Linked DNA regions of Homo sapiens: regions 2, 3, 4, 5, 6 and 7 are each linked to region 1. Evidence: promoter capture Hi-C in 16 types of primary human blood cells and fetal thymus (Javierre and others, 2016). All regions are on one chromosome and are shown on one strand. The core of a region is centred on a gene start or on the middle of the fragment in contact, and the rest is flanking DNA. Distances in the headings are between cores, read along the strand shown.

Region 1 (3,155 bases), core at 604-3,103:
CTGTGTCACCCAGGCTGGAATGCAGTGGTGTGATTGGTCTCAGCTCACTGCAACCTCTGCCTTCCAGGTTCAAGCAATTCTCCTGCCTCAGTCTCCCCAGTAGCTGGGATTACAGGCACGCGCCACCACACTTGGCTACGTTTTAGTGCTTTTAGTAGAGATGAAGTTTCACCACGTTGGCCAGACCAGTCTCAAACTCCTGGCCTCAAGTGATCTGCTCTCCTTGACCTCCCAAAGAGCTGGGATTACAGGGGTGAGCCAGTGTGCTAGGCCACTTGGTTGTTTAAATACGAGATTTGATTCTTCCATTTTCTGTATGCTTTACTGCCATTCCATCACTAACTCCTCTCAACCTGATGCCCAAAAATATATCTTGAATATATCTACTTCTCTTCCAAGGTTTCCGGCACATGGTAGAAACATGATAACTATGTAATGAGTGGATGCATGACCCAATCTTCCCTACTTCCATTCCAGTCTGAGCGCCCATAATTAGTCAATCAACTAGCTTGTCTTGGTTCTTTTTCCTTAGGCCTTCCACAATCTATTCTTCACATTACAGGGAAATTAATCTTTTCAAAACTGTAAATTAAAGCAGATTATTCTCTAGCTTAATATCCTTTACTTATTTCCCAATGCACTTTGAGTAAAATTCAAATGTTTCATTGTGCACTGCAAGGACACCTATGTTTTGGAAGTTTCCTATCTCTCTGGTATCTTCTTTTGCATCTCTCTGAAATGCTGCAGCTCCCGCCACCCGACCTCCCCGCCTTTAGAGTTGAGGCATAAGACATTTCCTTTGTCGAGAAGGGTCTTTGTTTAACTGGCATTTTAAGGTTTAATCTTAAAGATTACGCCCTTAGCCAGGTGCGGTAGCTCATGCCTATAATCCCATCAGTTTGTGAGGTCCAGGAGGGCGGATCATTGAGCTCACTTGAGCTCAGCAGTTCAAGATCAGCATAGGCAACATGGCGAAACCCCATCTCTACAAAAAATACAAAAATTAACCTGGCCTGAGCACTTGTAGTTCCTAGCTACTTAAGAGACTGAGGTGTGAGGATCGCCTGGGGCAGGGGGCGGGCAGAGGGAGGTTGCAGTGAGTGGAGATTGCGTCAGCAAGACACTTTCTCAAAAAAAATCACGCCCCCCATGAAAGGCTTTCCTTTACCACCCAACTCCACCTTGGTTACTCTATCACAGCTCCCTATGTGTTCCCTTTCCAGCATAAATCACAACTATTTGTCAGTGAATTCCATGACAGAACGAACCTAGCTTTTGTTTGGCACATAATTGTTAAATGAATGCAGTATTATATTTGGCTAGACCAAAATTGTTTCCCTATCAGTTTGTGAGCAACTTGAGGGCAGAGCCCTAAATCATTCGAGTGTGCTGACCTCTAGGGGGGTTAGTCCAGTGCATGGTCTAGAATTGCTCAAATCGGCCTTTTGAAAAAATGAATCATGTACAATGATAAAGGTGTGGACAGGACCACAAGTAACGGTGTAACGATTAGCAGATTTAAGGAAAAGTCAGTCTAAAAGGAAACGTGAGAAGCTAATTGCAGAAGACAGCCATTTCAAGTCTTCAACAGCAAGGCTGTACCTCCTCACGTGACTTCAGTGTAGACTTTAAGAACCTAAACTAACGCTTCTCGCGAGAGGAAAGATTGACCGCTCGCAAGCGTACATCAGCTGGTGCCCCGCCTTCCCTGGGCCCCACCCACTGCCTGTCCTCATTCCCACCTTGAACCAGCCTTTTGCGCGTGTGACGTCATGGCGCCGTGCGTGGCCTCGGCGGTGGCGCAGGGGGCGGGCCCGCGGCGCGGCGCCGGAGGAGGAAGTGGTGAGGTTGTTGCTCCTTCAGCGCCTATCGCTGGCTCTTGGGGCGCAGAGAGGGGCCGCAGTCTCCGCGGCTGCGTCGAGCTCCCTTGCAGTCCCCTCCATGTTCCCCGGCGCCACTACTCCCCTTCCTAAGGCCGCCGCTTACCCCGGGGTCTATGGAAGTAATGGAAGGACCCCTCAACCTGGTGAGTGTCCCACAGAATATAGCGTTCGTCTTGGGTGCCTTTGCCTCAGGAGCCCGGCCCCGTCCCCGGCGCGTCGGCTAACCCTTTAGGCTGGGAGGTTGGTTTGGCAGGAGTGGTCGCAGAGGCTGTGAGGGGCTGCTAGGCAGGCCCTGGCCCAACTGCGGCTCCAGGCTAGCCACTTCAGACTTTGCCCTCCTGGGGGATCCCCGGGAAGTCCTGGCGCCCCCTGTCGCGGGGCCCCGGGCGAGGGGATGCCACCACCTGGGGCTGCCACCTCCTCTCTGGCTGGGGGAAGTCCTCTTAGCGCCACGTAGCCACCTCCCTACAGCCTGGAGAGGCACTGAAGCCGGCCAAGGCAGAAATGGTGTGATACTGGTTTTAAGTTCTAGCAGCAGGGTCTGAGTCTGAGTCGCCCCGCTTTGGAGAGGTGGAGGAGTGAATAGCCTCCTCACCCTCCACTTCCCCCTCCTCACCCTTCACTTCCCCCTCCTCACCCTCCACTTCCCCCTCCTCACCCTCCACTTCCCCCTCATTTCTCACATACATTCACATGCATAAACTGAGTCTACCGTCTTCCAAATATATTAGAGACAGCTGGGAAAAAGACAGCCGTTCCTGTATTTAGCTCAGATTCATCAATTTAGGCATCATGAAAGTGTAATAGGTGTTTGCTGTTCTCAGGAAAATGGCTGATAGCCTGTTTACTTGTGTTTTAAGGCGTTTCAGGTGTTGCAATTAAAAAACAACACAACAGAACCCCACTAACAACGGGAAGCATGAGTTCTTTTCAGACTGGCCATTGCATCTTTTAGTTTTCCAGAGAGGTTACCCATTTTGGATGTAAAAGTCAGATTACTTAAGGTTGCACACAGGAAGAACTTTTGAGTCACAGGTTTGCAATTCATTTGCGATGGTGGAATTGAAAGAAAGCTCTATAGAGGATTCTTTTCTCACATTAGAACTCTGAGTCCTAGAAGAGCAGTAGAGTCAGGTGGTTTAAGACTCTAGGTTTTGAAGCTATGCTGCTTGGATTTGAATTCTAACCTCGTCACTTGATATCTGTGTTACCTTGGGCAAACTACTTGGCTTCACTCGGCTTCAGGTTTTTTGGGAGGATTAAAGGAGTAAA
Region 2 (3,045 bases), core at 521-3,020, 710 kb before region 1:
TCAGTAAGAATAGTAGCTCTTCTCTCCCTAGTATAAAAGGGGCATCTTCCTCAAAGGGCAATCCATACCTTCCTTTTAGGCAGATAAAGCCTAGAAGAGTAGAGAGCTCTTCCTGCATCTGCTGAGTCTCAATTGCCTTTAGCTCAAAATAATCCTTATGCCAATGTGGTGTGATGACTTATTCTGAACTCTTTCAGTGCCAGCTCAGACAGGCAATAGAAACAAAGAACCTTAAGCACATAGCCAACAATCTTACTAATATTATACACGTCTGAAGAACATTATAAATATACCCTGGAAATTTATTGCCAATATCAACATTGACTTCAAGTTTGCTTTCCTCAAACAATGTGGTCAATATATCTAATGAAAGAAAATCTAAAAGTAAATGTGTGCATTCCGCTTTGATACAGTCTACTCCTGAAGATAGTGTAACATATGTTACATGGCCAATCTCCAGACCATGTTACTCTTAAAGATGGTACTATGTACTGGCTTTGATTTGGAGGCTATACAGTTGGATTAATCTTACTATGTTTGCAAACTTAGACAAGTTACTTAACTTCTCTGAGCTTCCATTTGCATATGTAAAAACTGCACATAATGATATTTATCAATCTAAAAGGAAGACGGAGGCTGAGGCAAAACATATAATTTAAAGGGTTTATTTGAGCCAAAGGGAGGACAGCTATCTAGAAGACTTAGATCCAAGTAACCTTGAATATAAGCTCCATTTGGCTTTTGTTACAAGCAGGTTTTTAAAGGAAAAAAAAAAAAAAAGGACGGGGTGGGCTTATACAAAGTCGTTTGTCAGGAATTCTCATTGGTTAACAGAGGTAACACTGATTAATGATTGGGTGCACATTGTTTAGCTATTGAGCGTGGATTTTAGTGTCTGATGTGACATTGTTCAGTTAATTTATAGCTATTTGCAGCAACAGCAAACAGTTTTGAAAGATGAATACATGGCTCAAAGCGGGGAGTAGGGTTTTTCTTGTGTTATTTATTGTTGTTTTTGCATGAACAAAAGGTCAGAATGTTAAGGTAGTCAAGTTCATCAATAGTTTTTTCCTTTATGCTTAGTGCTTTTTTGTTTTATTCCCTACCCAAGGTCATGGAAATATCCTCATATATTAATTAATGTTTTATCATTGAGTATGATCATTATTGTAAGTTTTTGGTATGTACACTTTTTAGGTTATTATAATTCCTATCAATTCCTGGTTTGCTAAGATATATCACAAAAAAATATATAAATTTAGAGAGATGTTTTCTCCTTTATTGAATGAGATTTTGTTTTATATTTCTCCTTTAAAATCTTAATGTATTAGGTTATGTTAATTTATTTTATAACATTAAATAAACCTGAGTTCTTGGAATAAATCATACTTAGTCATTACATATTACTTTTATATACATTATTGCATTTAGGTTGAAATTAATTGGCCTACAATTTTCCTTTTTTGTATTGACATTGTCTTATTTGGATATCAAAGTTAGACTAGAATTTACTATTTCTGAAGCAGTTTGTGCAAATTTGAAATTAACTCGTAATAAATATTTGTTAGAACATGCTTGTAAAAACATTTGGGACTTTGTTTTCTTTGAACCAGTGATTCAATTTTTTTGTTATTGTTCAGTTTGATGGAGCTTCCACCATCTTTGTAACACTGAGACTTAAGCTTAAATTTAAGTTTGTATTCTTGTAGGTAACTATGTCACAGAAAAAGACAAGAGAATTGCATGTAGGATTTTCTCTGTCTTAACTCAGAAATGATTCACATATTTTTTCACATTGTAATTGGCCCATATAACTGCAAAGAAGCTAAGAAATAAAGGAAAGTAAATAGAATACTTAGCAAGCTTTACTGTCTCTGGCAGCCTCTAAGTTCTTGGCCTGGACTACAGAAATAATACTTTGATTGATTGCAAGTTGGCAGTGAACTTGAAAATAAAGGGATGACCTGCCTTGATTTTCTGTCGTCTGGACATTCCACTGGTTTTGTATGCACCTAATGTCTTCTAGAATGGTTTCTGTTTTTCTTGTTTTCAGGCTTTTTTTTTTTATTGAGTCAGGCTCTGTCACTCTGTCACCTGGGCTGGAGTGCAGTGGCGCCATGCCAGCTCACTGCAACCTCCACCTCCCTGGCTCAAGTGATCCTCCCACCTCAGCCTCCTGAGTAGCTGAGACCAGAGGCACCTGTCACCACACCCGGCTAGTTTTTTATATTTTTGTAGAGATGGTTTTTTTTTTTTTTTAACTGAACACTGACTGATAAACCATTTTGTACCAGAAGAAGTCTGGAAAACAGACTTCAAAAGATAGAAATGTGGCCTACTTGGGTTTAGAGACATTGGCAACCGATAGTGGTAGCTCATTGCTTATACTGGAAAAATATGTATTTGTCTATTTTGATTTGATTGTTAATGTCTAAGTCATCAACAATCTTATTGTCATCACCAATTTTCTGAACTGAGCTAGTTCACAAATTGAACAGGTCTTGTGAATGTAGGAGAGTCTAGTCAACTTGATGAAAGATCGTACAACACTGGCACAATTATGTACTGCAAATCTGTTACCTGGCCTTTACCAAAAGAATCTGGGGCCATTTACAAGGGTGAATCCACAGTTGATAAAGTAAAATACCCAATCTTTTTAGGGATTACTTCTCATCAGCCTTGAGCTGATGCAAATTCCTCAGGACCATGAATCCTCTATACTCAGTTAAGCGGGTGGGCTTTAGAATTTGGGTGATAAAATGAAATGTTAACCCAAGTCCGTATCACGTAAAGCCAGGAACTCTGCAAAACCACAGTGTGCTAATCCCTGAAAGCATGGTTGAAATAGATTTAATTATGTACTGACAGCCTCCCGACATTGGCATACTCACTGTTGAAGTAAAGGCTTTAATGATAGAGATATGCAAGAAGTCCTTGGGATTTCTTTCTCCAAATAGTAAACAATAATTGATACTACATCCCTGAGGTAATTGAAAAGATCAGTGCCACCATCAAAATCTTGAAAGCTGCAGAGCTATTGATTTC
Region 3 (3,256 bases), core at 123-2,622, 700 kb before region 1:
AGTACTGTTTATATCATAAGTTGGTTAGGAGGGTTAAATGCCTAGCTCAATGCACCGTAAACAACGAGTGCTCCAAAAAATGTGGCTAGCACACACACACACCAAGCATTTCAAACAAGACCTATAAGCAGATGGACTTCTGACTATAAACTTTCTTATAAATTCCACATAAACTCTCTCTAGCTAAGAGGGAGAGTCAAATACCACATTTAAATGTATGTATGAGAAATGTATTCTCTGTTTCCAGTGATTTCAGAATCAGAGATCATTTTGGATGGTTTATTTTAAAGTCTTCCACAATCTATACCCATAGATACAAATATATGTGTCTGTGGGTGTTTTGGAAAATAGGATTGGGTGGAGGCAGGGAAATGTATGTGGTTGAATTCAGTTAAGCAACTGGCTGTTTTGCGACTAATGATTTGTAAGTAGCAGTTTGGCTGAATTTAACTTTTTTTGTCTTTAAAAAATGTAGTTTTCTGAAATTTATCTAAAAAAGTTGATCTATATCAAGCTTTAGGGTAACTTCGTCATGGTTTCCTTGCTTTCTGGAAATTCTACGCACGTCATAGAGTAAATGTCAAATTTTAAATAGGAAATCAATATTCTTCTCTAAGAGGCTTTGAGAATAAATAGCTATTTTAATTCTTTCTCAGGAAGGGATTTCATAAGGAATTGTAATGACGGAAGCAGACAAAGTTTAAAGCGAGTTTTTAGCAAGTTATTTACATCTCATGTTATGTTTTCCAGGCAGTTAACAAACAGCCAGATCATCAGAGTAAGGTGTAACTCATAAAGCTTTTTCCTTCTAAATTCACACATATACGTACGTGTGTGTGTGAATAGTATATGCAATTTAAAGGTTGTGAGATTGGTAGCAAATGCACTTTTCTGTAAATCTCCTGGCTTCTTTTCCTTCCTTTGACCAGAAACAAGCAGCCCTGATAATTATATTCTCTACCACTAGGGGGTGACAGCTGATAATCTATCCACATACTTTAAAGTAAGACAAACCACAGGCTTGATTATGTAGGTATTAATCTTTCTTTTATTGGTCGCCTGGTGAGATTTGGTTTGATGAGTTTTATTTGCTGAACACGCTCTACATCCAACATCATTCTTCTGTCGTGATGCATAGCATGGGCCTGTTGGAATAACAGCTGGTGCTGGACAGCTTTGTAGATTTCAAGTAACTGTGTATGGGAAATTAGTTAACAGATAGGAGCATTTATTCACTCATGCATTCATTTCATAAATATTGAGAGTCCACAGATCCTGTGACAAGGACTGAAGATACAATGGAGAACAGGAATATTATATCTGTTTTCATACAGTATTTTCTTGTTTTTGTTTTTGTTTTTTTTTTTTTGAGACAGAGTCTCACTCCATCACCCAGGCTGGAGTGCAATGGCTCTATCTCAGCTCACTGCAACCTCCGCCTCCCAGGCTCAAGCGATTCTCGTGCCTCAGCCTCCCTGGTAGCTGGGATTACAGGCGCAGCAACCATGCCAGGCTAATTTTTGTATTTTTAGTAGAGATGAGGTTTCGCCACATTGCCCAGGCTGGTCTCAAACTCCTGGCCTCAAGTGATACACCCGCGTTGGCCTCCCAAAATGCTGGGATTACAGGAATGAGCTACCATGCCCAGCCACATAGAGTTTTTATTGAAAGGGGAAAGACTACAAAAACCAGGTAAACAAACACATACATAAAGTAATTTTGAGTGTTAACAAGATAGATAAAGGAAAAAAACATGAAGGGCAGATACAGAATAACTGGCATTAAGGAAGAGATATAACATTAGATCAAGTCACTCCCTTATCTAAGGCCTTTGCTATTCTCTTATGTAAGCAGAAGATTCAGAGGCACACTGTGCCTTACTCCGGGTGCTTTCCACTTGAATAGATTCTGGCAAAATCCTCATAACTCAGCATTTCGGTGCCTTTGAAGCTTGCAATAGCTGATGAATGGTATCTAGCACCAGTATCCTTCCTCAGTATGCTTCTCACAGTACTTAGAAAGCTTTATTAAGGTAGGCATCAAGCAGAAAGAATTTGCCTGGTCTCTATTCCTTCTGCATTACAGCCTCACTAACTTGCAAGCATTTTGTCTAATTAGCTAGAGTGCTTCTTGAGAAATACACACACAAACACATTTCAAATAGAAAATAGTGCTCATTTAAGGTCATTTAGCATGGAAAATAAAATTATTCTAATGGTATGAATATCGGTAAGACTATCACCTTGCTGTTGTTGATACTACACTTATGGTTTCTGGTCAGTATAGATATTTTAATTCCATTTCCCACTTTCTTAGTTTTTCTCCCTTACTTGAAATCTCCTTCATCTTTACCAATTTAAATTCTTCTCATCTTTCAACTAATAATGGGTCTATTCTTTCTCTTCTCGGTCTCTGTCTTCCTCTCTCTCTTTACATTTTCCTCATGCCATGTGTATTCCTTCATTGTGTTTATTCCAGAAGCACTCACGTGATTGAGCAATTGATTAAATAATCTTTACTTAGAATTTTATGATTATTTCAACTCTAGCAAAAAAAAAAAAAAATGTTGACTCACTACCTAACAATGCCTCCCTTTCCCAGATTCTCTTGCAGCTAGGGATGGGATGTGTAGCTCGGTTTAGCCAATGAAGCATAGGGGAAATACACTGATATCTTCTGAGAAAGACATATTCTTTATAACAAAGATGGGAAAGCATATGTGCAAGCCCTCTAATAGCTGTGGCTCTTCCTTTGCCCTGACTTTGCATGAGGTTATAAAGGATTTAATGTCTGGATCTGCAAAATTATCTTGTGAACAAAATGGGAAACCCAAGGGACTCTTGAAGATGTCAACCCAGTGACCTTGACAATGTGGAGCTGGTAAATCAGCTCTGAAATGACCATCCTCCAGCTTCTTATATCTTCTATTACTTAATTTAATGTCTTTATTGTTTATGCCACTAATAATTTGGTGTACTGTTACTGAGAGCCAAACATATCCTAACTGACACAATCTAAATATTAAAATCCCTCAAAAATATCATCTCACTTTTAATTTTGATACTTCTTAGAACCTGGCCCAGTGCTTGAGACAGAGTGGTGGCTAAATAAACATGTGCAATCTGCATGTTTTTCCTTTGTCCTGTCCGCACTTTCTCCCGCACAAAATGGACTTCTTGAAATTAGTCTCATATGCTTATCTAAGAGACTGCTAAATTGGAATAAGGAACTTTGCCTATGGAGTCTGTTATACAAA
Region 4 (3,491 bases), core at 248-2,747, 590 kb after region 1:
GGAAACAACTTTTTCTCCCTTGGTTGCTTTCAACCATACTATGCTAAATCTCCCTTCTGTGCTCTGTAACTTCAATCTCTGGTAGATTTCATAGCTTTTGGCTCACATTCAGCTGTAACAAGAGTCCTTGTTTGTTTGTTTCTTATTTTTAATACATGGTTTCTTATTTTTAATACATGGTTTCACTCTGTTGCCTCACTGCAGCCTTAACCTCCTGGGCTCAAGTGATCCTCAATCTCAGTCTCCGGAGCAACTGGGACTACAGGAATATGCACCATACCTGGCTAATTGTGTGTGTGTGTGTGTGTGTGTGTGTGTGTGTGTGTGTGTGTGTGTGTATTTGGTACACATGAGGTCCCACTATGTTGCCCAGGCTGGTCTTGAATTCCTGGGCTCCTGCCTGGGCCTCCCAAAGTGCTGAGATTGCAGGCATGAGCCACTGTGCCTAGCCCCTGTTTTCAGGTATTAAAAATGTTAGTCTGGGCTGGGCATGGTGGGTCACGCCTGTAACTCCACTACTTTGGGAGGCTGAGTGGGAGGATCACTTGAGGCCAGGAGTTTGAGACCAGCCTGAGCAACCTAGCAAGACCCTGTCTGTATTAAAAAAAAAAATTAGCTGGGTGTGATGGTGCATGCCTATAGTCCCAGCTACTTAGGAGGCTGAGGTGGGAGGATCACTTGAGCTCAGGAGATTGAGGTTACAATGAGCTATGAGTGCACCACTGTCCTCCAGCCTGGGTGACAGAGTGAGACCCTGTATTAAAAAAACAAAACAAAACAACGCCCTCCCCAGCCAAAAAAAAACTTAGTCCAATCTCATATATAGCTTGAATCTTCTCTCCTTAACTCTTCTTACTTCTGACTCTGAGGAAGGAGAGCATGACTGTTCTTTCAGTGTTTTTCTGACTATTTCTCATCTCTTTCCTGCTTTCTAATTCCTCTAGTATAGAATCCAGCATGCAGATCAGAGAAAGAGGAGCAAAGTGTCACTGTACTTAGCTGGTATTGTATGTGATTCTCTCATGGATAATACTGGCTGGGACTCATTCCCTCTGTTAATCTGAGAATTCACATAGAGCTTCTCCAGGGCACCCTGTGGGGATGCAGGGGGTTCCTCCTATTCTGGTCATTCTCCAGTTGCTTCTGAAAATCTTCTCTCAGCTTTTGCCCCACATGTTCTGGGCTTCACTCTACACAGCTTCTTCCTGCTGGGGACCCCTGGCTTCAGGCAGTAGTTCTTTTGGTCAGGGTCTGTTCCAGATGATGCATGTCTTGCTACTCTCTTCAGGTTCCCTTGGTCAATGGGAAAACACTGTCCATCCTTTTCCTCCCTAAAGCTTAACCATCTAATCAGCCCTCTCTCCCACCCTGTAATTGCATGCTGCTCCAGCCAGTCTCTTGCCTTCAGCGTTCTTGAGATGGATGGAAACCAGGCAAAGATGCCAGCAAATGCCTGTGGATGCTCTTTGGCTCTCCTAAGAACACTTGTTGTTCTCTATGGTCTGGAAGCAGCACCAGGGCCTGTGATGTCAGGGCTCTGTAAACATCCAGCCAGGAAGTGAGATACAAATCTTTCTCGTAGGCATTTCTGGTCCCTGTGACTGATTTGCTTGGACTCCTTCACTTGGCTTAGCAGTAGGGAGGGAGGGAAAAAGCCAAAGCTTTTCTAGTTCTAAAAATGCCTTTCAAAGCACCTCATAGGCCGGGCAGAGAGACGCACGCCTGGAATCCCAGCACTTTGGGAGGCCAAGGTGGGTGGATCACCGGAGATCAGGAGTTTGAGACCAGCCTGGCCAACATGGTGAAACCCTGTGTCTACTAAAAATAAAAAATTAGCCAGGTGTGGAGGTAGGCACCTGTAATCCCAGCTACTCGGGAGGCTGAGGCAGGAGAATCACTTGAACCCAGGAGGCGGAGGTTGCAGTGAGCCAAGATCGTGCCACTGCACTCTAGCCTGGGCAACAGAGCGAGACTGTGTCTCAAAAACAACAAAAAACAAAAAACAAAGCACCCCATAATGAATGTATAGCCTTCTCTTAAATTGGCTGAAGGTAATTAATGAAGTTTTATTTATTTATTTTTATTTATTTATTATTGCCTGTCTTTTGGCATTTTCTCCACATCCTCACCAACACTTGTTATTTTCTGTGTTTCGTTTTGAAGTTTGGTATTTTAAGGATGAGCTTGGGCATTTTAAAATAAAATTCTGCAGAAATGTACCTAGTGGGTCTCTTTGGCTTCAGGGTCTTAGCTGAATTTCAAAGATAATAAGAGAAGGCCATTCTCTCTGTTCTTAATCATGTTAGGATACAAGAAGATAGCCGTCTGCAAACCAGGATGCAGGCTGTCATCAGACACCAGATCTGCCAGCACCTTAGTTTTAGACTTCTCAGCCTTCAGAATAACTGTCTATAAGGGAACACTTGAATTCATCGGAGAAGAGATGATAAGTGCCAGAAGTAATTGAGGAGAGGGTTCGAGGCAGCTTGCTCAGCTGAGAGCTGACTGAGAGCTGAGAGGTTTCTGGCCTTGGGGAAACAGTGAGAGAGAAATCCCCAGAGCTCCAAAATGGGTTTTTACGATCTTGGCTATGGGAGGAACCCCTGACCCACTGGGGCCTCATGCCTGACATACGGAGCTGCCTAAAGATTGCACAGGAATCTTGCTCCAGAAAGGGAACCCACACAGAATCCCACGGGCATCTGAGCCTGGAGCAGTCTCAGCTGGGAGCCACTTTGAGAGCCCAGATACCAGGGATCTACAGACACAGCTGCAGCTGCTCCAAGGAGGAAGAGGCAAGACTGGGCGCTCCCATGCACCCTCGGGAAGGTGCTTGCCACTCTGCTATAAGCTGCTGTGGAGACTGAGACACGAGTGAACTGCCCTCCCCCATGCTGCCAGCCTGGGCAGGGATTGACAGGGAATCCAGGCCATTCTACGCCTATCTAGGACAATACCCACTGCCCTGTAATGAGCTGCTGTGAGACTGAGACGTGATCACACTGCACTCCCCACAGCTTCTTGCCCATACTGCTTGCCTGGGTGGTGCACGCCCTCTCTGGCTCCTGGTCCAAGGCGACATTTTGAGAGTTTAACATGGGGCTGCACCTCACCCTCGGCCTGAGCTTGGGCAACCATAGCTGCAGCCACTGCCTGCCAAAGAGGCCCCACCCTCTCCTATCACAAGCCCACAGCTAGTACCATTTTGAGAGTTTAGAGACATTGTTTGGCAACCTGGCAGCAGTGGCCACAGCAGGCATCGTAGTCTCAGGTCAGAGATTGGAGCACTTGCTCTGGAATGGGAGATGGGACTCCATAGCCAGCACTGAGCAGCAAGTATCAAGAGTGCCCCAGCAGTAGGTGCTGGAGTTAGGCTCTCTCCTGTCGCAGGACTGCAGTGGGAGGAGAGTTGCTGAAGCCAAGGTTTCTCCCAGGTGGTGAGACTTGCAGCCAGGGACAGCTTTGTGACCTGGAACTGGTCTGTGCATGTC
Region 5 (3,132 bases), core at 466-2,965, 640 kb before region 1:
CCAGATTACTGTTATGTAAACCACCTTCTTTATAGTCCTCCACAGTTTGCAATGGTATTTTACTTGATTTTTTTTTTCAGTGAGCTCCCCACCTTTAGTGCTACAAGTCATATGCTACATTTACATTTAAGCAGTGGTCCACTTATAGAGTATGAAGAACTTCCACAAATCACATTCATTACCCACAAAGCACTCTGTAATACAGATACCACTTCTCTTTCTTTTTTATTTTAAGTTCTGGGATACATGTGCAGAACATGCAGGTTTGTTACATAGGTATACATATGCCATGGTGATTTGCTGCATGTATCAACCCGTCATCTAGGTTTTAAGCTCCACATGCATTAGCTGTTTGTCCCAATGCTCTCCCTCCCCTTGCCCCCAACCCCTGACAGGCCCCGGTGTGTGATGTTCCCCTCCCTGTGTCCATGTGTTTTCATTGTTCAACTCCCACTTATGAGTGAGAACATGCGGTGTTTGGTTTTCTGTTCCTGGATACCACCTCTCTTTCACAGATGAAGAAACAGACTCAAAGGGATTTGCTGATTTGTCCAAAGATGTAGTTTGTCAATTCAAAGTAAGAATTAGGACTTAGCCCTATAAACTGTCCCTGTTTTAGCAGCACCATGTAAGAAGTCGCAACAGTGCAGGAAACATTGGAGTTTCATGATGCTGAATGAAAGAAACGACACGTGACATCTGTCATGGAGCATTTAGTCGTGACTCATTGGCTGCTCTATCCTGCTCCACCTATTTTCTAAAATGTGTTGGAATGTGTAGCCCCTGAGACTCCACAAAAAAAGAGGCTCCCTTGTCCAAATATATTTGGAAAATGTGGCATATTACACTCGCCCTCCTCTCCTACAATGTGCACATTAGCATCGTAAAGGCCCTGAGAAGTCCTCCACTAAAGAAATCTGTTTTACCTTGTTTGACCCTATATTTCCCAAGCTTATTTGGGCACAGACTTCTTTATATAACATCTATTAAATCTATTAAAATCCTGCAGAATTAGTGTGCCATGCAGGGAATACGCTTTTGGAGAAGTGTATAAAAATGATTTGAGGGAAGTTGAGAAAGTCAGAGAAGGTAATCAAAGGGGATTTAAACTAGTCAAGAAAAAGTGTATGAGAAAAACAGGCAGCACAGTTGAAGGATACCCCTCAGAAGTCTGTGAGCTGGATGCTGCTGCTGTGTGCCTCTGACAGCTCTTCATCCAGGCACTGACCCAGCTCTGGGCCTCAGCTTCCCCATCTCTAAACCGAAGGGGTTTGCCTGGGATTTCTCTAAAGCTATTTCCCTCCCAAATTGTCAGTTACATTTTCCCCAGGAGATCCTGAAACTAATTCCGTGAACATTTTTATTTGCAACCTTTTACTTTGATATAACTTGAAATTTAGAGAAACATTAGAAAAAGGACACATGAGGAATTTTCTTTCCTCCGATTCATCCGCTGTGTATATTTTGCCATATTTGCTTTCTAGTTCTCCCTCCATCTCCCTCTTTCTTTCTCCCTCCCACCGCCACTTTCTCCTATGCTCTCTCATATTCTTTTTCTCTGAACCACTTGAGACTAAGTTGGAGATATCATTCCCCTTTTACTCCAATACTTCAGGGTGAATTTTCTAAGAATTAGGACATTCTCTTATCTATCCACAGTATCATCATCAAAATCAGCTACTTAACTTTGATACAATACCATCATGTAATTCATAGTCAATAATGAAGTTTTATCTATTCTCTCAATATCTTTATAGCTACCATTCCTCCCCTAAACTTCATTAACTTTGTATAGAGGGCAAGGTTAAGTCAATGTTAAAATCATTTGGGAGGCCGAGGAGGGTGGATCACGAGGTCAGGCGTTCAAGACCAGCCTGGCCAACATTGTGAAACCCCGTATTTCCTGAAAATACAAAAAATTAGCTGGGTGTGGTGGTGGGCACCTGTAATCCCAGCTACTCGAGAGGCTGAGGCAGGAGAATGGCTTGAACCTGGGAGGCGGAGGTTGCAGTGAGCCGAGATTGCGCCATTGCACTCCAGACTGGGTGACAGTGTGAGACTCCATCTCAAAAAAAAAAAAAAATCATTTATCCACCTAAAATGAAATAAATGGAGCATCCCATTTCCCCTGTCCTCTTGTTTCAACACTGGATAAATGGGTGGAAGAGACAGATAGGAGAGGAGTGAAAGTTGTCTGAAAAGTATTAGGCAATAAATTTTGGACTTGGTATGTCTATTCAGCCATACAAGAACAAATGCCTCCGTGCATGTTAATTGTTTTACTGAAAGTCTTTGAGGTTTACAATGAGAAAAAAACTGATTTATTGTGAAAATCAGCACTTTCTGAAAAAAGAAATTTGGTCACTCCTCCTTCTTTTATTTATTCTCACTGTGCATATATATTTCCTTAACTAGATTATAAGTGCCTTTGAGTGATAGCTGGCTGATTCAGAGCACAGTGAAAGATCCGACTGGCTAGAGAAGCTTTATCAAAGAAAAGAGCAAGGGATGTGTTTGGAAAGGTAGGTTTGGCACAAACCTTGAATACTTAAATACATCGCTTAGGATTTAATTCTTTTCTTCTTTCCTAGAAAGAATTATTGCATCATAATCTTTCAGCAGTGGAGGGCAGATGAAAGAGAACAGACTTTGAAGTCCTAGGAATCAAATCTCAGCTTCACTGCTTATTAGCTGAGCATGTTCTTTAACCTCTCTGGATCTCACTGAAAAAATATGTATCTTAAGAAAGCGGACTGAGAGGTGGGCTTCAATGAGCTAACATGTATCAAGTGCTCATCCTTCCTCTTCCCACTTGCGTATATCTCATATCCTCAAATATTCTCATTTGTTAAACGCTGAAAGTCTAAAATCAACTTCTCACAAGAATTTAACATTTACCTGGGATCTACACATTTGGGAGAAGGAATCACAGAAATAGGAATATGGTGATGCTGCAAAACACCTTCATAAAGGGGGTTTGGACATTTCAGCCTGGATTGTATTGATTGCTTCCCTCTTACGTGTGTTTGGTTTGTCATCTTCACTCTTTTCTCCAGATTTCTCCATTCTGATTGGAAACCTCAAATACAACAATCTGGCTTTCACAATGAAGGTCCAACTGCAGGTGCTCAA
Region 6 (3,503 bases), core at 571-3,070, 860 kb before region 1:
TGGCAGCTTCATTCATGTATCAAAGGAAATACCAAATAAAAATTCAGTGTTAGTCAAGTATAAAATTATCTGACTCTCAATATTCCTGTTAGGTTGCAACCTACTACTATTTTGTGTTTTTTCTTCAAATCCAAACTGAGGAAGTAATTCCACATTTCAATCATTTTGATTTTGTCCTGCCTAAGAAATTAAGTATTGTATCTTCCCACATGTAAATAACCCAGGCTTTATGTATATTTAAACATTTATTTTCATTCCATGCAACTAAACTTCATGATTTTATCCTCTTGTCGCTTCTGTACCATTCCTATTCTTGCAGCCTGCAGCTCAATAAATACACCTGGACAGCTACACCTACACCTATATGATAGGTGCAAGAACATCAATAGAATGGCAATTCACTATAAATCAAGATTTTGTTAGCAATCAGGACAGCCAAAGTACATAACAGGACAGGACTGAAAAAAAGTACATCAAAATCTTTGAAATTTTTGAAAATGCTGGCATAAAACAGCATAAGTATTACTGATAAAGACACTGGACTTCTTTTGCATAATGAATCTTAATGTCTTGCTTTATTTTTCACAGTATTATTGAAAACTAATAATTTTGTGTCTGCTAAGGAAATCCCAGATTTTTAAACAAAGATATCAGGTGCCTCCATATGAATGAAATTGCAAATATTCTACCAATTTTGACCTACAAAACTGGCAATTTCATATGGCTTAACCTATTTCTGAAGTAGGTAAAAGAAGGTAGAGATTAAAATAGAAGTGAAGGTCCAGCTTAAAGACATCAGAGTTTTCTTTTAAGACCCTAAAGTTATGGTTAAGAGTGAAAAGTGGTAACATTTTAATAACTGATGCTGCCAAGAAATAATGTTGGTTTAGTAAAAAGTAAAATAAAAAGGTTTCTAACGCATTTTACATGGCTCAAAAGCAAACATCAAACTTCTATCCAATGTCACGTGTACTCCCTCTTTCCTTTCAAATGATTTGAGAAAGAACCCAGTATCAAACCTTCAACTTTTTCTAAAGTGCAGAGGTTGCTGTTTGCCTCTACTCCGCTCCGAACCCCCTCCCCCCAACCAGTTCTGTGTTGTGTGTAGACATCGCTCCATTACTGTGCTTCCCATTAAATCCGTAATAAGCCAGCTGTCCACTGGCCTCGCTGGGTTTCTTGGGAATCGAGGGGCTCCCATTTCCCCGGCATCACCTACACCTGCAAAAAGACAGGCGTCCAAAGCCTGGGGAGGGCAGCGGACAGGTGCGCCCGCAAACGCGCGCCTGGACCCCGGCACCGCCTTCCCAATCCGGACCTCAGCTGCCTGAGAAACTCGGGGGTTCCGATGTCCAGGCCCTTTAGAGCCCCAAGAGCGCAGTCTCCTAATCCCTCCCTTTGTTTCTGGCCACCGCTGAAATAGAGGAGCGGGGGAGAGGCTTTCCCGACTCCTCCACAAAGCAAATGCGCGAGGAACAGAACCCCGGCTCCCTCACCTTCCGCGGCAGGGTCCCTCCCGCAACTCACCTGCTGGGTGGGAAGCCCCGCCAGGCGGAGCGCAGGACCCCTCAGGCTCGGCCCCTCCATCTCCAACGCGAACTGTCCGGGCCGTCGCCACTCCTTCAAAGGGAAGATTTGAAAAGCCCGCCCCTGGCAGGAGCCGCAGAGGACGCCAACCGCCCGGCCGTACCAAGTCCCAGTCGCAGGGGCCGGGGGCGCAGGAGGAGCCGGGCCGAAGCGCACGCGCAGTGGGCGCGCCTTGCGCTCTGCAGCTCCCGCCGCCGGAAGTTGCCGAGACCCCAGGCTCTAGCGCGGCGGGGCGGGGGAGAGGGCGGCGGTGCCGGACTTAAGTCCCGGACAGGGATGTGGGCGGGCCTGGGACGGGAGTGGGAGGGGCCGCGGGGAAAGCTTCGGCGGCGGAGCGCACCTGTCCCAGCTCAGGTTTCTGGCTGGTGGTTTTCGTGGCACGCCCTTTGCACTGGGAGCTTTCTGCCCGCATCCCACCGAAGGCCTTCCAAAGTGATCGTAGCTGGACAGACTCGAGGCTGCAGTCCCTGTACTCCCAGACAACTCAGGAACCCACAGCGTCACTAAGAGCCCACGGTCTCGTTCCTAAAGAACCAATAACATTACTCTCAAACACAGCGCTCTCTGTTTCCTCTCACCTTTCCCAGCGTTGTCACCAGGGTCACCCAGATATCATGGTTTTATTCATCAGGTTCGTGAGATACTATGTCAGGCATTTCACAAGGTCTTGTCTTTGCCCCCAGTGTTTATAATCCCAGATGTTCCCCGCCAACTACTCTGTCCACTTACTTTGTTTTCTTGCGAAGGATTTCTTTCAGCTCTCTCGCCCTCTCTTTCCCTCTCCAACATCTAAGGTGATAGCAAAATGGGGTACTATTTCTCAAGAGCCTCATTTCTTGCTGCCCTAAAGATTAGCACAAAGACCCATTTTAATTCATGGATTTTGTTAATTATAAAGGGAAACATGGGATTTTTAAAAATCAAAATGAAAGCAGCAAAGATATCACACCCTTGAAAAGTCCTTAAAATTCATTGTCCCTAGTTTATCTTTATTTCCCCCTTGAAAAGGCAAGAGGAAGCCTCTTCTTGAAGAGTCTACCAAATCAACCCTCCAGCCCTCATCGCCTAGAAACCCTTGGGCATTTTTCCTCCATAAATAGGTGCCCATGTTTTTTCATTTGCCTGGGACAGACCCTGTCTGGGTCTGTTGTCCCAATGTTGCACCAATCTTGCACTTATCCCGTAGTGGATATTATGTGGTCATTTTAACTGCAAGACCCTTTTAAAAGCAGTTGGTTTGAGAATGTACTTTAAAAATATAATGGATACCCTTCCTCAAATAGGTAAAATGCCTCTTTAAGACCTTTTGGACTAGGTGATACTAGAAGCTTCCCAGTTGGGAATGATGGTCCCCTTGCATTATGAATGACCCATATCCTTACAACAATAAAATATGTGTTCAAAATTATCAACACGGAGCTCACCTCGTTTTCTACAAACACAGGTCTGAATTTCAGAATCATTATGTGCCCTTTCCTCCAATGCACATCTCTGTCTTATGCTACCACTTTGTGGTATAATTATCTCCTACTCAGTATGAGGCTGCATGAGCCTAGCTGTAGTACCTGACTCAAAAGAAAAACACACCGCGAGCCCATCATCAGACACATAGTACTTACAACACATACAGCTCTCAGTTGCAGATCAAAATACATGTAGAAGCCAGCACTTCATTAAAACAGAGGTGAGTCAACCAGTTTAGAATTGGACACTGATAGAGGAGTATTTGATGAGTTAAAACCAGATATTTAACTGGAGATACATTTATTTATGATACTAGAAGAAAGAGATTAGGCAAGATCATATTTAGTAATTATCTGTAGAATACAGTTGTTACAAGAGACCTTTCTCTTGGGAGAAGAAGTTATGATGTGGTCCTGTTTTTATTATACACCGGGAGAGGTCCCCAGGAATTG
Region 7 (3,493 bases), core at 984-3,483, 670 kb before region 1:
ACTGTACCCCAAATCAACCGAATGGAGACGTACTCTCCTCCCATGAAAGTGAGAAGGAGGCAGAGAATATTTCTGCACAATAATTTTCTATACCACTTAAGCAGATGGGGTTGGCTTGCTCATTTCAAAACAAGTGATGTGGCCAAGGGCATAGGTTGTACACTTTGGCCTAGACCTAGGTCCCATATTCCATCATGGGTGTAGAATTACATTCACATTTGCCAAAGCATGTGAGCTAAGAGTGGAGAAGGAAGGCTTACTTCAAATGAAGGTTAGGGTTCTGCTAGCTACATATAGGGGAAATGGATGTGAGATGGCAAACCACAGTGACAATTATAACTTTAAACAATAGACTTACAGTTTTATTTCTTGAGTCTTTGGTGTTAGATAGTATCCTTTGACACCACATGTATAACAGTTCTCTTTCATGCCCCATTTCCACTCTGTCAACTCAATCATTCATGCTATTTGTTTATATTTATGAATGAAGGGCTAGGTAATTAACAACGGTGGCTAGGTGTCAGGTGCAGCTCCCTGCCACTGAGTAGGTGTGTCTCCTCAGTAAGCATATCTGAGGTTGGTGGCTGGCTGTGTACATGGGTGGGATGTGTCAACCACAAGCTTCCCTTTAGGATGCAAGTACAGAGAATCATGCAAATGACTTTCTTTTCACCTCAAAACACCAAAAACAGAGGGCTTCACTGTGGAATGCCAAATACCATACAACAAGCCTTAGCTCTCCCAGGGAGACATCTTATTTTCTTAATAGATCAGATCTTGGGGAGGGGACGAAGGTTTCTGAATCCCCTCTTGCTGCTCCATCTGTATGCATGGGAAAAGAGGAGAGAGATGACAAAAGTCAAACGGTGCAACCATTCTCTGGTCAACCTTCTGTTAATCACTTGGTTTTTGCTCCTCTTTCCATTCCTGAGTTCTGAATCTGTTCATGTCCAACGTGAAGATTCCCCAAGGCTTCTTTGGAAAGAACATTCCACCCTTTCTGCAGCCTCCTCCTGAGTATATCTGGGGTGCTGCTTTCTCTGCTCTGTTTCATCTATCCATACTATTCACTGTCTTTCCTTCTTCCAGAAAAGTATCAAAATGTCTGCTGATGGTTTCCTTTTTTGTCTTCAGCATGGTTATGAATTTATTTCCTTAACTGACTCTTCAGCAGAATTTTGAAAAGGAGTGTAGATAAATGCAAGCATCCAGTCCACCATCTTGAACACACACACACACACACACACACACACACATATATATATAATATTGTGTGGGTATATAAATGTGTGTGTATGTGGGTGCATGCACATGTGTTTTTTTTAAAACAACATTAGATTTTGCCAGTTACATTTTTGCTACTGGCTTAATTGAATACCCTTCTAGAAGAGTTTTGAAAGCTGTTTCTTAAAACCACTTGGGGAAAACAGGGATCTTCCTCTCACTTTATTATTATTTTTTAATAATATTAGCTGAGTTTTTGGTCTTTTTTCCTACCTGAATGAACAAACTTCAGAGATGATACGATCTGTTACACAGAAATCTGTTTAAGTTGTACTTAAAAACAAGAAAAGATATGTTGATTCTAACCTCTGGAGGTCAGCATTGGCTTTATCTATATTTTGGTTTTTTGTTGTTATTTGTTTTTAATACTGAACAATCCTAAACCCTACACCCTTATCAAACTAGAGCATTCACTTCAAATCCTGAGAGTAGCTGGTGAAGAATGGGCCTGGAATAAGAGTGGGTAAATGACCCATGAAAGAAATGACTATCTTATGTTGGATCTAAAACCTAACTAGTAAATATTTATTTGTTACTGTTAGTACTATGTATACATTTACTGTATGCCAATAGTATTCAAAATATATGGTTCTACTGAGGATGGCTAAAACACACATAGATGGAGGGAGAGCTTCTGCCTAGTGGGCTTCAAATTGAAAAGATGCACAGCATTGAGATAGACACTTTCCAGGAGAAAACCATGACTCACATGGGGATGACTTCAATGGCATCTGGTTTCCATCTTCTTTGTTTCTTCTCTTGGACTCCATTCAGAGGCACTTCCTTCCAGCTGGATCTTTTAATGGCATAATGTGAAAGCAAGATCCACAGAAGTGGGTTTACAGGAGGGACTTGAAGGAGAAAATGCAGATCATCAGGGGGAGACGATGGAAAATTACACCCAGATGGGAGGGAACAGAGAATGTACACACATCCAGACTAAAATATACCAATTAAAATATTTAGGGAAATGAAGAGTGGTGTATGATTTTTAATATAGGGTAACAAAACTCTGAATGCAATAAAAAGGCAAAGTGATATAGTCCTGATTGCAATTAGCACATTAATGCAATTTCTGTTTCTAGCCTGGGAAAATATGTCAGCTCTCTTTACTTAAATGAATGGAACATGGCACTGCTTGTAGTCTTGCTGTGACTTATTCAGTCTACACACTAGCTCCATTCATGATGGCAGTACCCTTCTTTTCCTTTCAGAGCTGGAAAGGTGCTGGCGAAGCTCGCCTGGTGTGCCAAAATGACCTGGAATTGGAGGTAAAGCCACCACCTGGGTGGGTGGGTTGGGCCTGGTTACAATAACCAGCAGCCCATCTGGGTCCATATGAGAGAGACTGGAAGGGGCGCAGCAGGCCATTGGTTTCTGTATGAAAACACACATTTTCACATTCTCCTTCTCCCAAGTCATCATTAGCAAGGAGGAAAGTCTGTTTCTTCCTTTAAAATGAGGGTCCATTATATTCTGTAGCTTTTCCCCCTATATATGATGTTCCTTTTAACTGAATAGTACCAGATTTGAGTGACTTGCCACTGGTCTTATTCTCTTCTCTACCTCCAAACAGCTCTTGAGAGGGGCCATATCACTGGGAGGTAAGTGGTGATGGCATGGAGGCTGTAACGATGGTTACAGTTCTTCTGTACATTGTGGCAGTCAGACCTGATCCGAACTGACAATAAGTCAAAAAATAATTATTGAGTACTTGTCCAAGTCCCTGCAGAGATATATATTAATGAGTAATTCTTCAGTCCCTCTTTTATGTGCCAGGGATGCATTCAAGACCCGCAGTGGATGCCTGAAGCTGTGGATAGTACTGAACTCTTACATGTTTTTTCTTATAAATACATACCTGTGATAAAGTTTAGTTTATAAATTAGGCACAGGAAGAGATGAACAACAATGGCTAATAATAAAATAGAACAATTACAACAATATAGTGTAATAAAAGTTATGTCAGCGTGGTCTCTCTCTCTCTCTTAAAATACCTTATTGTACTGTATTCATCTATTTTTGGGCCATGGTTGACCATGGGTAACTGAAACCTAGAAAAGCAAAACCTCAGATAAGTGGGGACTACTGTATAGAAAATGGTAATATGAGACAGATTGCTCTAAGCCCTAAGAGAGATACAAATCAGGCTAATGGGAACAATAGAGGTTAATTCTGATGTGGTGTTGGGAGACAGGAGTACATATCA

What was found. The method cuts DNA at HindIII sites, captures the fragments that hold promoters and counts their contacts. A CHiCAGO score of 5 or more calls a contact.
Region 2: a contact is called between a fragment that was not itself captured here and the fragment with the promoter of NRBF2 in region 1, in 1 of 17 cell types (total B cells). The highest score is 6.0, in total B cells.
Region 3: a fragment that was not itself captured here is called in contact with the fragment with the promoter of NRBF2 in region 1 in 5 of 17 cell types (naive B cells, total B cells, total CD8 T cells and 2 more); the score reaches 7.8 in naive B cells.
Region 4: a fragment that was not itself captured here is called in contact with the fragment with the promoter of NRBF2 in region 1 in 5 of 17 cell types (total CD8 T cells, erythroblasts, total B cells and 2 more); the score reaches 7.7 in total CD8 T cells.
Region 5: a fragment that was not itself captured here is called in contact with the fragment with the promoter of NRBF2 in region 1 in 1 of 17 cell types (total B cells); the score reaches 5.5 in total B cells.
Region 6: a contact is called between the fragment with the promoter of RTKN2 here and the fragment with the promoter of NRBF2 in region 1, in 4 of 17 cell types (non-activated CD4 T cells, total B cells, M2 macrophages and 1 more). The highest score is 6.4, in non-activated CD4 T cells.
Region 7: a fragment that was not itself captured here is called in contact with the fragment with the promoter of NRBF2 in region 1 in 1 of 17 cell types (naive B cells); the score reaches 5.1 in naive B cells.

Annotation. Positions count from the first base shown.
Region 1 is chr10:63,131,475-63,134,629 of GRCh38, forward strand. It overlaps NRBF2 (nuclear receptor binding factor 2), which reads left to right and starts at 1,854. Exons shown (of 4, transcript NM_030759.5): 1 at 1,854-2,026. The coding sequence starts at 1,997. RefSeq lists silencers at 1,671-1,920, 2,131-2,400. The HindIII fragment of the contact is 9,214 bases long and covers 1-3,155 here.
Region 2 is chr10:62,418,730-62,421,774 of GRCh38, forward strand. It overlaps a transcript of ZNF365 not described here. Among named protein-coding and RNA genes, the nearest start is that of ZNF365, 46 kb to the left of the region's middle. The HindIII fragment of the contact is 181 bases long and covers 1,681-1,861 here.
Region 3 is chr10:62,436,838-62,440,093 of GRCh38, forward strand. It overlaps a transcript of ZNF365 not described here. Among named protein-coding and RNA genes, the nearest start is that of ZNF365, 64 kb to the left of the region's middle. The HindIII fragment of the contact is 1,152 bases long and covers 797-1,948 here.
Region 4 is chr10:63,721,179-63,724,669 of GRCh38, forward strand. No RefSeq gene overlaps it. Among named protein-coding and RNA genes, the nearest start is that of REEP3, 200 kb to the left of the region's middle. The HindIII fragment of the contact is 324 bases long and covers 1,336-1,659 here.
Region 5 is chr10:62,494,515-62,497,646 of GRCh38, forward strand. No RefSeq gene overlaps it. Among named protein-coding and RNA genes, the nearest start is that of ZNF365, 120 kb to the left of the region's middle. The HindIII fragment of the contact is 1,533 bases long and covers 950-2,482 here.
Region 6 is chr10:62,267,024-62,270,526 of GRCh38, forward strand. It overlaps RTKN2 (rhotekin 2), which reads right to left and starts at 1,821. Exons shown (of 12, transcript NM_145307.4): 1 at 1,528-1,821. The coding sequence starts at 1,587. The region is part of intron 1 of LINC02621 (long intergenic non-protein coding RNA 2621); the gene reads left to right. RefSeq lists a silencer at 1,573-1,902. The HindIII fragment of the contact is 2,285 bases long and covers 1-1,906 here.
Region 7 is chr10:62,457,243-62,460,735 of GRCh38, forward strand. It overlaps a transcript of ZNF365 not described here. Among named protein-coding and RNA genes, the nearest start is that of ZNF365, 85 kb to the left of the region's middle. RefSeq lists an enhancer at 235-284. The HindIII fragment of the contact is 3,229 bases long and covers 620-3,493 here.